3 separate regions of the Homo sapiens genome follow, and regions 1 and 2 are each linked to region 3. The links are contacts of gene promoters, found by promoter capture Hi-C in blood cells and fetal thymus (Javierre and others, 2016). All regions are on one chromosome and are shown on one strand. The core of a region is centred on a gene start or on the middle of the fragment in contact, and the rest is flanking DNA. Distances in the headings are between cores, read along the strand shown.

Region 1 (3,971 bases), core at 116-2,615, 220 kb after region 3:
CTGAGACAGGAGAATGGCGTGAACCCGGGAGGCGGAGGTTGCAGTGAGCCGAGATTGCGCCACTGCACTCCAGCCTGGGCAACAGAGTGAGACTCTATCTCAAAAAAAAAAAAAAAAAAAAAGTCTAGATGCCAATTTTGTTACTGGAAATAGAGATACCTGAAAGCAGAAAGGTGTCTTCTAAAAATCCCCAGATTTCTTCCCAGTAACACTTGAGAGAACAGACACACAGAGCATCATGCTTGCATCTTAGCAAGGCATTGCCACTCCTCCTCCAGTCACTGTCCTGATCACTTCTAATTCAGCTCTGTTTTGGGGGATCAGCACCAACAGGGGCCTCATCTTCTTTGTGAAGAAAAATACAGGCCAATAGTACGCTTAGAATTTATGTAAAAGATAACTTAGAATAATCCATTAAGCCCACATGATCGACATGAACTTGACCTATGTTTAGATCAAGGATAAAATCTGATTGATTTATAAGCTAGTTATGTCATTCTCTTTCCCTTTGGCAGTTCCAGACAATAAGGCATAAGGGCAAGCCTTTGAGGGTGGGTGAGATGGAGTAAGGAATTGGGGGAGAGTTATGGGAAAGGCTTACTGGCTCCTAAAGAGACACCAGAAGAGATGGCACCTTCTCCACCTCTGGGTGTTGCAGGTTTGGATGAGATGCCTGGAACTACTGAGGTCATCTTGCTACCAGTGTGACAATGAAGCCATCAAAGGGAAGAGATCAAAGCCACAAGAACCAGGGAGTCAGAGGCAACATGCTATGTCTAGAACCTGCCACAAGGCTGGATTTTTTGTTGTGTGGTGACATATTTCACTATTGTTTGAGCCAATGGGAGTTCAGGTTTTTGGATGATTACAGCTGGACACTTCCTAGACAAAGTATAATTTTTTGGTTACTCACATTCTAGACCACTTGGAGAAGCCAGGGCACTATTTTCATGACAGTTCTCAGTGAAGGTCAATAGTTTAAAGTTGCCATATCCTGGGAATTCTTCAAAGATGTGAAGCCCTCACATTACATGGTTCTCCATACAAAATTGGAGACTTGCCTAGTGCACTATGAAAAACTTCTTAATTCAAGATGCAGTTCTCAAAGTGGCATCATTCACATAAGAACAGTTTCCCTTTGAAGCATCTGGAATGAGACTCCAGTGATATTCTATTTCTCACAGAGGTTTGGTAAAAGCATAGCAGAAGCTCTTAGACCATCCCTCTTTACATCAGGCTCTGACTAATGTGTTTGCCTGAACTAAGAAGTAACAACTGTGAAAAAATCAGAAAAATTATTATATTGTATTTAATATAAATTTAACTAATAAGTGTTAGTGAATCATAGCTATTCTAGATAGCCGACTGATTCTTCTATTAATATGTAGACCTAAGAATGACTAGAACTTAAAAAGTGTAGTTTTGTTAATAGTTGGACCTTATCTTGGACACAATGTTTATACAATTAGGCAACTGAAAAATCACTGGTGGCTTATTAGTAAGCTGAGCAATGAATGGAAATGCTGTGATGTAAATCTGTACTGGGTTAAGCTAAAACTCCATTTCTTAATTTGAAATATTTCCTTTTAGACATAGTTTTCAGGCTGATTTTCGGTATGAGATTATTATTGTTCTAATGTCCATTGCTGATGGTGAAATGGATTAGCTACCCTAACCTAGTGTCTCACCAACAAAACAAAACAAACAAAAAAAACCCAAAAAATCCAACACATATTAAAAAGCAAAATAAAATATATACAATATTTCAAAAAATACATCTATAAGATGGCAAGTAATATTAGGAATATTCAAGGCCAAAGACTGAATAAAAGTGAAAACCTAGAAAGGTAAAGCAAAGCACAAAAGCTGGTTTTTGCTTTGAGAATGTTTTGTTAAACTCCATAAACTTAAATTTTAGTTTTCATGACATCATAGGGCATGTAGACAGAGTACAAAGCCCAGGGTCCTCCCAGCCCCACATAAAGCTGAGATTTCAAAGAGCTAAACTGTCAGAATGCCCAGATGGAAGTACCCACATTACCCAGACGAAAGGGTAATTTAGAAACAAAATCAACCTCTAAAGGACTGCAAGGAAAACTGCTTTCCATGAACTATGGCATTGGGAGTTAGAGGGAAAATAAACTCCACTGAGAAGGTATACTAACAAGCTAGCCCACACGAGAATTTGCAGATTCATACTAACTGGGTGGTCTGAAAAAAAAACAAAAACAAAACAAAAGAAAAAAATCCCAAAGATCCTAGGTCAAAAAATTCAGTTTAAAAAGATTTTAGGCTGAAAATACCCCTTTGGCATTTGGCACAAATGGAAATCCTCTCTAGAGGAAACTACCTTCAACTCAGGGCTCAAGGAATTCCTACATATAAAATTCTGAGATACGTGACTTCATATAAAAAAATCTGAAAGCATACAGAAAATAATATACAATTATTGAAAGCCAGTGACATTAAATGGCAGAATCAGAGCTGCAAAGACCTCAGATATTTAAATAATCAGACAGCATGTAAGACATACTTAATATGTCAGAAAAAAAAAAACAGCGGATTGGTATTTCTAGTTTAAAAAGTAAAAGACTATAGAAAATGGTCAAACTAGAAAAACAAATAGAAACTTTGGGAAATGAAATAGGTAACAACTGTAGATCAAGGAATGAGAATTAGTAAACTGGAAGAAAAATTCAAAGAAATTGCACAGAATATAGTCTGGAAAGCCAAACAGATGGAATAACTGAAGAGTAGTTAAGGGATGTGAAGATAAAGAAAGTCTAACATGTGTCTAATCTAGGTTATAAGAGATTAAGGAGAGAAAAAACTGTTCAGAAGCCATATTTGAAATGTTAATATAAACTAAGAATTTTCTAGAACTGAAGAAAGACACTAATCTACAGACTCAGGAAGCTCAATGAAACCTGGTAAGGACAAAATAAAAGAAATCTGCATTTAAGTACATACAAATGAAATAGTATAATATCAAAGACAAAGGGAAGATCATAAAAACAGCCAGGGAAAAAAGGAATGACAATTAGATAGATGATTTTTCAACAGTAAAATGGGAAACCAGAAGTTGGTGGAATAATATCTTCAATGTACTGACAGAAAACAAGTCTCAACCAAGCATTCTATACCCAGTAAAAATCCTCAAGAACGATGGTGAAATAAAGACAGATTCAAATAAATACAGTGTGCAAAGAGCAGACTTCCACTAAAGGAACTTCAAAAGGATGCATTTAGATTGAAGGAAAGTGGTCCCAGAGAGAAGTCTGGAATAAAAGAAGAAATAAGAGGCGAAGAAAGTGTTAAATATATTGGTATATCTAAACCAATAATTGCCTAATAGAACAATAATAGATTATAATGTCCTATGGAATTAAAGTTAGAACTAAAATATATAATAACAATAATATAAAAACTGGGAGGGTATGCTCAGAATTAAAAGTGTTTTGAAGTCCTTAGATTTTTTTGGAGGAGGATTAATATACTGAGTAGCTTTAGACTTTTGAGAATTTAACTTGTGAGATGGAATTTATAGGGTCATTAATCCCTAATAGAATAGGAATACAGTATGTATTACAAGGTAGAGAGAGAGAGGAAATAGATAAAAATAAAATTCAGAAGAAGCCAAGAAATGAGATAAAAGCAACAAAAAGGTGGTACAAATGGAATTATCAAATAAGACAGCAAATAATTACTATAAACATAGACAAAATGATCCTGCTAAAAGATAAAAATTGTAAAACTGGATTAAAGCAATTTTAACAATTATAATTCCTAGCTATACGTTATTTATATGAGACTCACCAGAACATAAGGGTATGGTAAAGCTGAAAGTAAAAGGTCAGAAAAGACATTAGTAACTACTAATTAAAAGAAAGATTATATAGCTATGTTAATATCAAACAAAATGAACTTAAAGTTAAAAACATCTATAAAGGGTTATTATATAATATGAAGAG
Region 2 (4,429 bases), core at 790-3,289, 250 kb after region 3:
CAAATCTCTGAGCAGAGATCATAAGTGGAATGTAAAACATCACATTTGGGCTCGCAAGACTTAAGTGTCTGCCTGTTAAATTTGAAGAAAAGGAAGGAGTTGCCTGGTCCAGGAGCCTAGAGAGAACATGAGAAAGTTGCTGGTTTCTTGCTGAAGACAAACACCCATTCAGTGAGATATTGTGGAAGTCCCTTAGTCTTAACTTGTTAGTCTGTTAATTGGGAATGGCAGAAGAAGTGAATTACTCTGTGGAATTTTGTGAAAATGAATCCACTGCTGCTAAAAGGAAAATTATCTACTTTTCAAACACTCATATTATTAAAATAAATACATTATGTTTGAAGTCGCATATTATTCTTGAGGCTTTCAAATAAAAGTGAGAGTAACTTTGCCAAGTGATTTGGGGCTCCACTAATCTCCCCCCAAATTCTGCCCCATAAAATTCTTTTTACAGTTCAATAAAATTCATTAGGCTGAACACAGATGCAAAGAATCACAGGCAAAGTTAAGATTCTCTGGCCAATTTTCCCCATCTGGACTTTAATTAAATTTGTCTCCAAGTGAATTCTTCTCTTCACTAAATGGTTCTCCTTCCAGAAGTGACAAGAACAAGAGGAACAAAACTCTACTTGTCCTTCTTCCATTCTAATAACAAGTCATTCTGAGAACTTTAGGTACCACTCAGCCTAAGGGATGGTTATACTCCCCTAGGAAGTGGTTCTTTTTACCTCTCTATCATTTGGTCAAGTATGCACAGAGTTCAACCCATATGAGGGATACAGAGGTATTATTCCTTTAAGGAGCTTACAGTTGGCTTAACGGCAAAAGTAATATACTAAAACAAATTAGAAAGCAGTACAAAATAATGTAGAATATTTAGGTAATAAAGCTGTAAGGGCTGTGGGGACTTAGAAAAGGAAAATCAGCCAGGGTTAGACAAGTTAAGAAACATTCATGGAAAAGATGGGAACTGAAATGTAAATGGAGATGACTGAATGCAGCATTCCAAAAAAGATGGCAGACTTATTCTTCAGAAGTCTATTATGAAAGGAGAACCTGAGGTTAAAAGACAAATAAGGCTTGTGCCAAGATCAGAGCACCCAAACTGTAAGTTTAAAAACCCATTATTTGGCCTTCAGAACAACCTGGACTTATGCAGAAAGGAAGGCAGCTTAAAGTAACATCACTTCTTAACCTGAAGCTTAAACGTGATGAAGCAGTTGGCACAGTGCCAAACCTATAGCAGCTACTGTTACTCTTCTGGTTATGCTAGTCTATCCATAGGGATGATGCTCCTTCATCATCTGGTGCTGCTGGGCTGACATATAGGGGGCTGTCTCAGGCCAAAGAGGAGGTCCTTTGTAGGATGCAGTCATGAAGAATTCCTGTTCTCAGACACCCAGCTGTGAAGTGGAGTAAAGGATTAAGCTTGTTGAAGATCTGTCTCTAGCGTGCCTAACCTTAGCCACTCTGTAAGGAGAGGTTACCCTTTACCTTGATTTCCCTGCTACAAGGCAGTCCCTCCTGTGAGAAACCCACAAGAACTTTCCTAAAAATGTCTTACTCATCTGAAGTAAGAAACAACTTCCTGAGCAGGTAAAGGACCGAAGAGAGCTGGTGACTGCAAAAGGCTTAAAAGCTAGTTTGGAATCTCCCTGTTTTACCATGCACCCACAAAAAACAAATCTGTAAGACAAATCTTTACAACCTGGGCTAAATGGCTTATATCAGATCCTAGCCACAAACAATAAAGAGTCTCTTTTGAAATTAACAGTCTAAATACTTTTTGCCTAGGTGTTAATTTTTCAGTTTAATTGTACTTTGAATTTAGTATAACATTTTAAGTACTTATTTGCTTTTACAGCATACTTACAACTTGTGAACTACAACAGACTCAAATAAATCTGAATCCCATGGAATTCCAATTACGGTTTTCCATTCTTTTGAACCATTGAGACTTGATGAGCCATAAAATCTCTTGACATGTGAATTTGTATACAGTGTTATATAGGAAAGAAGGGAGGAAAGGACTCTAAAGATTGTTGGGAGTATTTATTTTGTGGAACTGAGATTTGAGATTGCCAAAGGCTTTGTAGACCTTAGAGACAAAATTGCACTGCTCTTCCCATGTTGCAGCTAAGGTGACAAGCAGATGAGGTAAGGTCAGATAGTTAAGTCACTAGCAGATTTTGGTCCAACATTTCCTGTCCATCAGATATGTGGCTTTTCAATTGTTTAATACCTGGGGTTCTGCTTTCTTTGTTTTTAGCTGTGAATTAGTAAACTTTAAAAAGCGATGAATAGTGAAGCCAGAGCTTTTTTCAAAAACCTTTTTTTCAGCTACTAAAACCTGAGATAGTTTGCCTTCTCTTAAAATTCAAATCACAAGGTAAGATATGGTCAGGGCAAAAATGGATGGTATTCAAATAGCACATACATGAGGTATACTATAGCCATTTCTTTAACTGCCACAAACAGAACATTTCTCACATAGATAAACTAAATGGGTGAAACTCCTGCTCAGGGACAGTATAAGCAGCAGACCCAGGGCCAAGAGAAGTGGGGTACAGTCATTGCTCTCACCTCTAGCAGATATGCTGTTGACCACTGTCATATTTTGATGGAATTACTCCTTGCTATGCAAGCTTAATATCCTCTAGAACATGTTCATCTTAAAAGAACCCAACTTACAGGAAAGGAAGTATGATCAGACTGTTTATGCATTTTCTGTCTTCTCAGTATTCAGAAGTTGCTGAAAAGGAAAACATAACCCAAATGCTCTGGACTTACAGTCAAGGGAAAATTAAACAAGGCTCAGATAACCAAAATAATTTTAATTTGTACAAAGCATGCAAGAGGACAAGCAAAACACAGACCACAAGAAAAATGGTCATTCATGTTCCAGCAGATTACAGAATAAAACTTTTCCACCTGTCTGTAATTAGAGATGGCATATGGCCCAAACTCTCACTTTGCAAAAATCATGGAAAAGATATAAACCAATCATCCTCAGGAACTAGGAAGAGTGGGTAAAGGTAGAAGTAGGATGCTCACTGTGGCTCATGATTTAATTGTTTACTCAGCAGGAAGCCAAGCCACACATTAACCCTCATCCTCTAACTGCCTGAACCTCTAAGTACTCTTAAATGTATTAAATTTCCCTATTTTCCTTGCTCCTTGTTTACTGATTTATGACAGCTAAAATCGAGGACCCAAAAAAGTCCTCTAAGGATCAAAATGTTTCACATTTTATACTCTTCAGGCTGCTATCCATCCTGTTTCTATGGCAAACTGTGACTTCAGTAGTCACAGTAAAACATAGGCATCTGTTGTTGTGGTTTCTAAATTTCTGAAGTTTGAATTTCCCACTAACAAGTTAGGAAACGTTTGGTTTCCCAAGCATACCACTTTAGCCACTGCCTCTGTGTAGGCAGCCAGACTACAAGGAGGTGAAAACCAGTGAACTTATCCATTCTGGTACGTGACTGGCCCCTGCTTTGGCTTTTTATTAAATGTGGTGAACTGAACAACAATTAAGGTAAGAAAGCCACATAAAAAAGGAAAGCCTTTAAAAAAAAAAACACAGGCTTAAAAAAAGTTTTAACTTTTTGCTCAGAATAAGTTCTGGAAAAGGATACATGCTTTCTACAAAGGAGAGAATAAAGGAGAGAATAAAGGAAAGAAAAGCAGCCCAACGAAGAGTAGAGGTTAAGAGAAGGAATCATATTAAATCCTCCAAAATGCCCACGTGCAATATCTAAGTGAAAATAACCTGTGACCTGGGAAGAGAAAAAAGGGACTAATGGAGGTTAAAAACAAAATTTAACAGCTACATTGGAATGATTTTCTAAAGAACCATTCCTGGATTCTTTAATCTGCTAAAATACAAAAGGATCATTGAAATATAAATGGATTGTGAGCAATAAAAAAACATATAAATATTCTTAATAAGATAAAATACATACACACATATTTCTAAGGATATATATATATATATTTATTATTATGCCCTTGAAGTCTGTCAGAGAAATGGCTGCCTGTTAAAAATATTTTCCAAGAACTTTAGGTTCCTTGAAATGTTCTATGGAAATGGTATTTATGACAAACCCACCACCTCTGGGGAACATGAGATGTTATTACTGGCAAAGTCACAATTTTTTAAACCATCCAAAAATAATTATGAATTTATGCCAAATGACGAAACTTGCTATATTATTATAATGACTAAGAGAATATTTGCTAATGTCTCAAGATCAAGGCTCAAAGTAGCCATGAACCTATAGGAAATACTGTGACACAACACTGAATTGCTAGTGGTGGTGATTTGGGATCTTTGACAGGCAGAATATTACAGCACACAAATTCACTGGAGAGGATGGCTCATGAGATATAATATATGAGATAGGAAGTGTGGATGTATGTAATGGGG
Region 3 (4,382 bases), core at 1,706-4,205:
TTTTTTCTCATATAGCCCTAGTGTTTAGAGTTAGGCCTCGGAAGTCAGACTAAACTAAATGCAGATCCCGGTCTCTTACTAATTATCTCAGTGATGTTGGAAAGATTACTTAATCTTTCAAAACCTCAGTTCCGTTTTTTGTAAAGTTGGAAAAAAAGACTATTTCTCCCATAGGGTTTCTGTCTGAATTAAAATCAAATAACATAAATAAAGTGCTCAATGTACTTAATGTAGTGTTGCCAAAGTGTGACATAATAAATAGCAACTATAATAAAAATAATCCACTAGATTATAGGTTCACAAGGGCAAGGGCTACGTCTATCTTTCACAGTGTGCCTGACACATGGCAATTATTTATTTATGTGAATAAATAATTGAACTCTTCCCTCAGTCTTTATAAACTTTTGTTTCCATGACATCTTCACACCTTCACAGAGATTGCATGATGATTTCTAATACCTACCTTGCCATGAAGATACAGATACTTTATGGTATAGAAAGAACATGAAACTCTTATTCTCATCATTTCCTTCTTTTTTATTTAAAAAATTTTGACTACTTCCTTTCCTTTTCCTTGAGAAATCAGGGATGATGGGGCCAAAAAGACTAAGGGCCAAAGGGGCCCTTACCCACAGGGGCAATGAGCAAATACATAAGTATTCTGAGGATAACAGAAACCACCTTATCCTCACTGTTGGGGAAAGGAGTTACAAATATGGAAAGGGTTAAAAGCCAGATTATGTCTATGGTGTTAGATTGGAAATGCAGCTATCAGTGTGATCTCATAGTCTTTAATATAAATAGACAGAGCAACAGATATAGGCGCGCGTGTGTGTTTGTGTTTCCTAGCCTATTACCTGAAAGGGCCTGGAAGCAATGAGCTCACGCAATCCCCAGATCTTGGTTTCTAAATACCATTTTCCATAATGGATGGAGGTCTTCTTGAAGATATGGCTAATTCCAGAGTTGGGCACAGAAAGTACAAGATGCTTATGGAACATTTTCTTGTGCCAGAAGGTAAGAAAGTACTCAGAAAAACATGAGGACCACATCTGAGATCATTTGAGCATTAAAATAAATAATGATATTAGTGATTTATAACTCATTCAATAAAACAGCAATTTATGAGCTCATGTTGATATAAATAAACACAAAAATAAGTGAGGAGAAGGGAATGCTCTTCTTCACTCTAAGAAAGTTTATTTAAGAGCAATATGTTTACCTAGTCTCCAAGTATCTCCCCACAAAATATTTATTAACTGCAAAAGGAAAAACCATAATTTTACAGTAAATCTAACAGATACCACCTTAAGCAAGTGGGTTTGGTTACAAGACTAACTCCGTTTATGTGACTCCTGATATGATTAAGAAGAATACAGCATTGTTTCTGTAGTATTCCTGCCATAAAAATACACAATTTCAATCTCACAATGAGGAAACATCACACAAATCTAAACTAAGGAACATTCTACAAAACGTACTCTTCAAAAATGTGAAGGTCACATATAAAAAAGGAAGATTACAGAACTGTTCAAGATTGAAGGAACGTAGAGACAAGGCAACTAAATGCAACACATAATCGTGGACTAAAAAACCATTTTTTTTCTATAAAGGATATTATTGAGACATTTGGTGAAAAGTTGAATGGGATCTATGGATTAGAAAGTAAAGTTGATTTACTGAATTTAATTGTTATACTGTGGTTATGTAGAAGAGTATACTTACATTTTTAAGATAATCACACTAAAGTATATAAATTAATTCAGAAAAAAATATACACACACCAAAATAAACTCACGGGTGGAAAGGAGGATGAGAGAGAGAGACAGAGAGAGAGAGAGAGAGAGAGAGAGAGAGAGAGAGAGAGAGAGAGAGAGAGACAGAGAGAGAGAGAGAGAAAGAGAAAGAGAGGGAGAATACAACCAGTGGTAAAATGTTAAACATTGGAGAACCTTAGTGAAGAGCATATGGAAATTCTTTATTATTCCTGTATTTTTTCTATAAGTCTGAAATTATTTTGATGTTAAAAATTAAAAATAAAGAGCATGGGCTTTGGAGTAACTCAGATTCAATTTTGAATCCTCAGTCTTATATCTATCATCTGTGAGATCCTAGGAAGTTATTAAATTATTCTGATCTTTGGTTTTCTCATTAGATCACCAGGAGTAGGACTAATTTAAAGGGCTGCTGTGAGGATTAAATTAGATAATGCATGACTTGAGCACTGGGCAGGTGGTAGGCATGTCTGGTAAGTGATCTGATACATAATGGATGCTGAAATATATATTTGTTGAATAAATGAACAAACTCCTCCCTTCTATCCAACCCCTCAATCTGAACAAGTGATCCTACTTAAAGAAAATTAGATGCTTCAAATTTTAGCAATCCTAAGTATGAAGGTTTTCTTAACACTTGAATAATATAAAACAAAATGTCAAATAATAATAATAAACATACCACCATGCATTCCGATGTTGCTCTAGAGTTTCCTCAGCACTTTGCCCTCGTGTCTCCTGTGACACTAAATGGAACAGGCAGGCATTCAAGTTTGAGTCCAACACAGCGTTAATAATAGCGAATGTTTACAGTGCCTTGGGTTATGGGTGTCAAAGAAGGGGTCATGCCCTTGTTACTTAAATCACAAACAAGGCTTACATCAGCTCATGGCTGCAGGGTACAAAATGAGGTGCAATTTAATGTCCATCTGGGCATCTGTTCCTAAGGTGCTAGCACTGCTGTCTGTGGTTCACAATATATCTGGGGTAGCAACACAGCAAAGAATGGGACCCAGGTTGTGCTTGGGAAGTTTCTACTCTCAGCCAAGATGTGCACATGAATTTAAAATTACCTAAGAGGGTGTTTCAGAGTTGCTGGCCAAAGAGTGGTGTCTTCTAATCTGGAGAGCAGCTGCTGGGCACAGGCATGCAAACACACATACACAGACACACACACACACACACAGACGTGCTCACGGAGCCTGTGCCTGCCTCTACTTGTCTGCTCTGCGCAGATGGTTCCTGGCTTTTGGGTCACCTCATCCTGCAGCCCAGTCCAGTTAGAACCTTTCTTCCACAGAGACTGGCAAGCTGTGGGGTAAGAGTTTTGGTAAGGCTGCCTGTCTTCAGAGCATGAAGGACACTGCCCGGAGAGGGAAGAGGGCAATATTTAGTGTTTGGGCCTACTTGTTGTTGGGCTCCCCACTGCCTCTCCTTTGCAGAGCTATCACTGGCCCCTGGTTGCAAACTCTCGGTGGCTTTCAAGCCTACAAAACAAAAACTGAGAGGGTGTCCAAAAAGAGAAGAAGAAAACGTTGTTGTTGGTCCTGGATTCCACTGTTGGATTTTGGTGGGGATGAGAAGAAGGAATTACCAGGTGTGATCAACACCTGCACGGTACCTGCACGGTAAGCTAAGTGTCCCCATCCTTGCTGAGAAGAGGCTTTGGGATGTTTCTGTGTTATTCACCAGCTAGGAGCGGCCAACACCACTCTCCAAAAGTAGGATCTTGTGAATATTATGCAAGGGAACGTAGTATGATTAAGAGCTTATGACAGATGATGACTTTTAGGCTAAAATGACTAAGAGTTGCTTGCAAAATAGAGGAACTATCCTGACAGTAGGTAAGTTTTACTATAGTGATACACATGAAAGAAAACCAAAATGAAACTTTAAATTGTTATCCTGTTAAGAGTAAGATGGATAGTCAAAAATTAAAGAAAAAGTATGTTTGGATAAATGGCTTTCCTTCTTAATAGCTTGATTTTGTAAGCTGATGTGAATGATCAATATACAGTGTCAAAATCATCACAATGTGTTGAAAATGGAGAATTATACTGAATAGGTTAAATTGCAGAGGAGGAATTCTCTTTTCATGGAAAGATTAATGGAAGAAACTAACATTTTCAAATGGCAACTATATTGTATCTTTTTTCTTTTGTTTGTTTACCTTCTGTTGATGTTAAGATTTAATGAATGAGAGCCAGAGAACAGAAGCAGGTTTCTGAGATAAGGTTTTTGGCAGGTCTTGGGAGATACCTATCAAGAACTTGTTCTGTAACACCCCACAGAAGATGACTGGATATCCATGGGCACATCACATCTGGATATAAATGGGAAATGATGCTAGGCTGCTGCCAAATGATATCACAGAAAATTCTGCTCACTGTACTCCTCAATGGGAGGATTATTCAATGTTTAGGGTGGCTGCACAGTTTTGTATATAGGCGCTCCACTGAAGAGAGATATGTGTTCAGTTAAAATGGTTGTGACATATTCAGTTATTCTTTTTTCTTTCCATACCAATTAATGATTACATATCTTTCTTTATTCATTATCTGTTCACATCTCAGGAAGGAATAGAAGAGGTGCAACACATACACTGTT

Evidence for each region. Contacts are between HindIII fragments. The CHiCAGO score rates a contact against its expected background, and 5 or more counts as called.
Region 1: a fragment that was not itself captured here is called in contact with the fragment with the promoter of FILIP1L in region 3 in 3 of 17 cell types (erythroblasts, naive B cells and megakaryocytes); the score reaches 6.0 in erythroblasts.
Region 2: a contact is called between a fragment that was not itself captured here and the fragment with the promoter of FILIP1L in region 3, in 1 of 17 cell types (M1 macrophages). The highest score is 5.0, in M1 macrophages.

What each region holds. Positions count from the first base shown.
Region 1 is chr3:99,889,314-99,893,284 of GRCh38, reverse strand. All of the region lies in intron 1 of CMSS1 (cms1 ribosomal small subunit homolog), which reads right to left. The region is part of intron 4 of FILIP1L (filamin A interacting protein 1 like); the gene reads left to right. The region is part of intron 1 of LOC105374010 (a long non-coding RNA gene); the gene reads right to left. Among named protein-coding and RNA genes, the nearest start is that of HP09053, 67 kb to the right of the region's middle. The HindIII fragment of the contact is 5,601 bases long and covers 1-3,971 here.
Region 2 is chr3:99,865,324-99,869,752 of GRCh38, reverse strand. All of the region lies in intron 1 of CMSS1 (cms1 ribosomal small subunit homolog), which reads right to left. The region is part of intron 4 of FILIP1L (filamin A interacting protein 1 like); the gene reads left to right. All of the region lies in intron 1 of LOC105374010 (a long non-coding RNA gene), which reads right to left. Among named protein-coding and RNA genes, the nearest start is that of HP09053, 44 kb to the right of the region's middle. RefSeq lists a silencer at 1,314-1,608. The HindIII fragment of the contact is 1,217 bases long and covers 1,431-2,647 here.
Region 3 is chr3:100,113,074-100,117,455 of GRCh38, reverse strand. It overlaps FILIP1L (filamin A interacting protein 1 like), which reads left to right and starts at 2,955. Exons shown (of 6, transcript NM_001387850.1): 1 at 2,955-3,403. The region is part of intron 1 of CMSS1 (cms1 ribosomal small subunit homolog); the gene reads right to left. The HindIII fragment of the contact is 6,115 bases long and covers 1-4,382 here.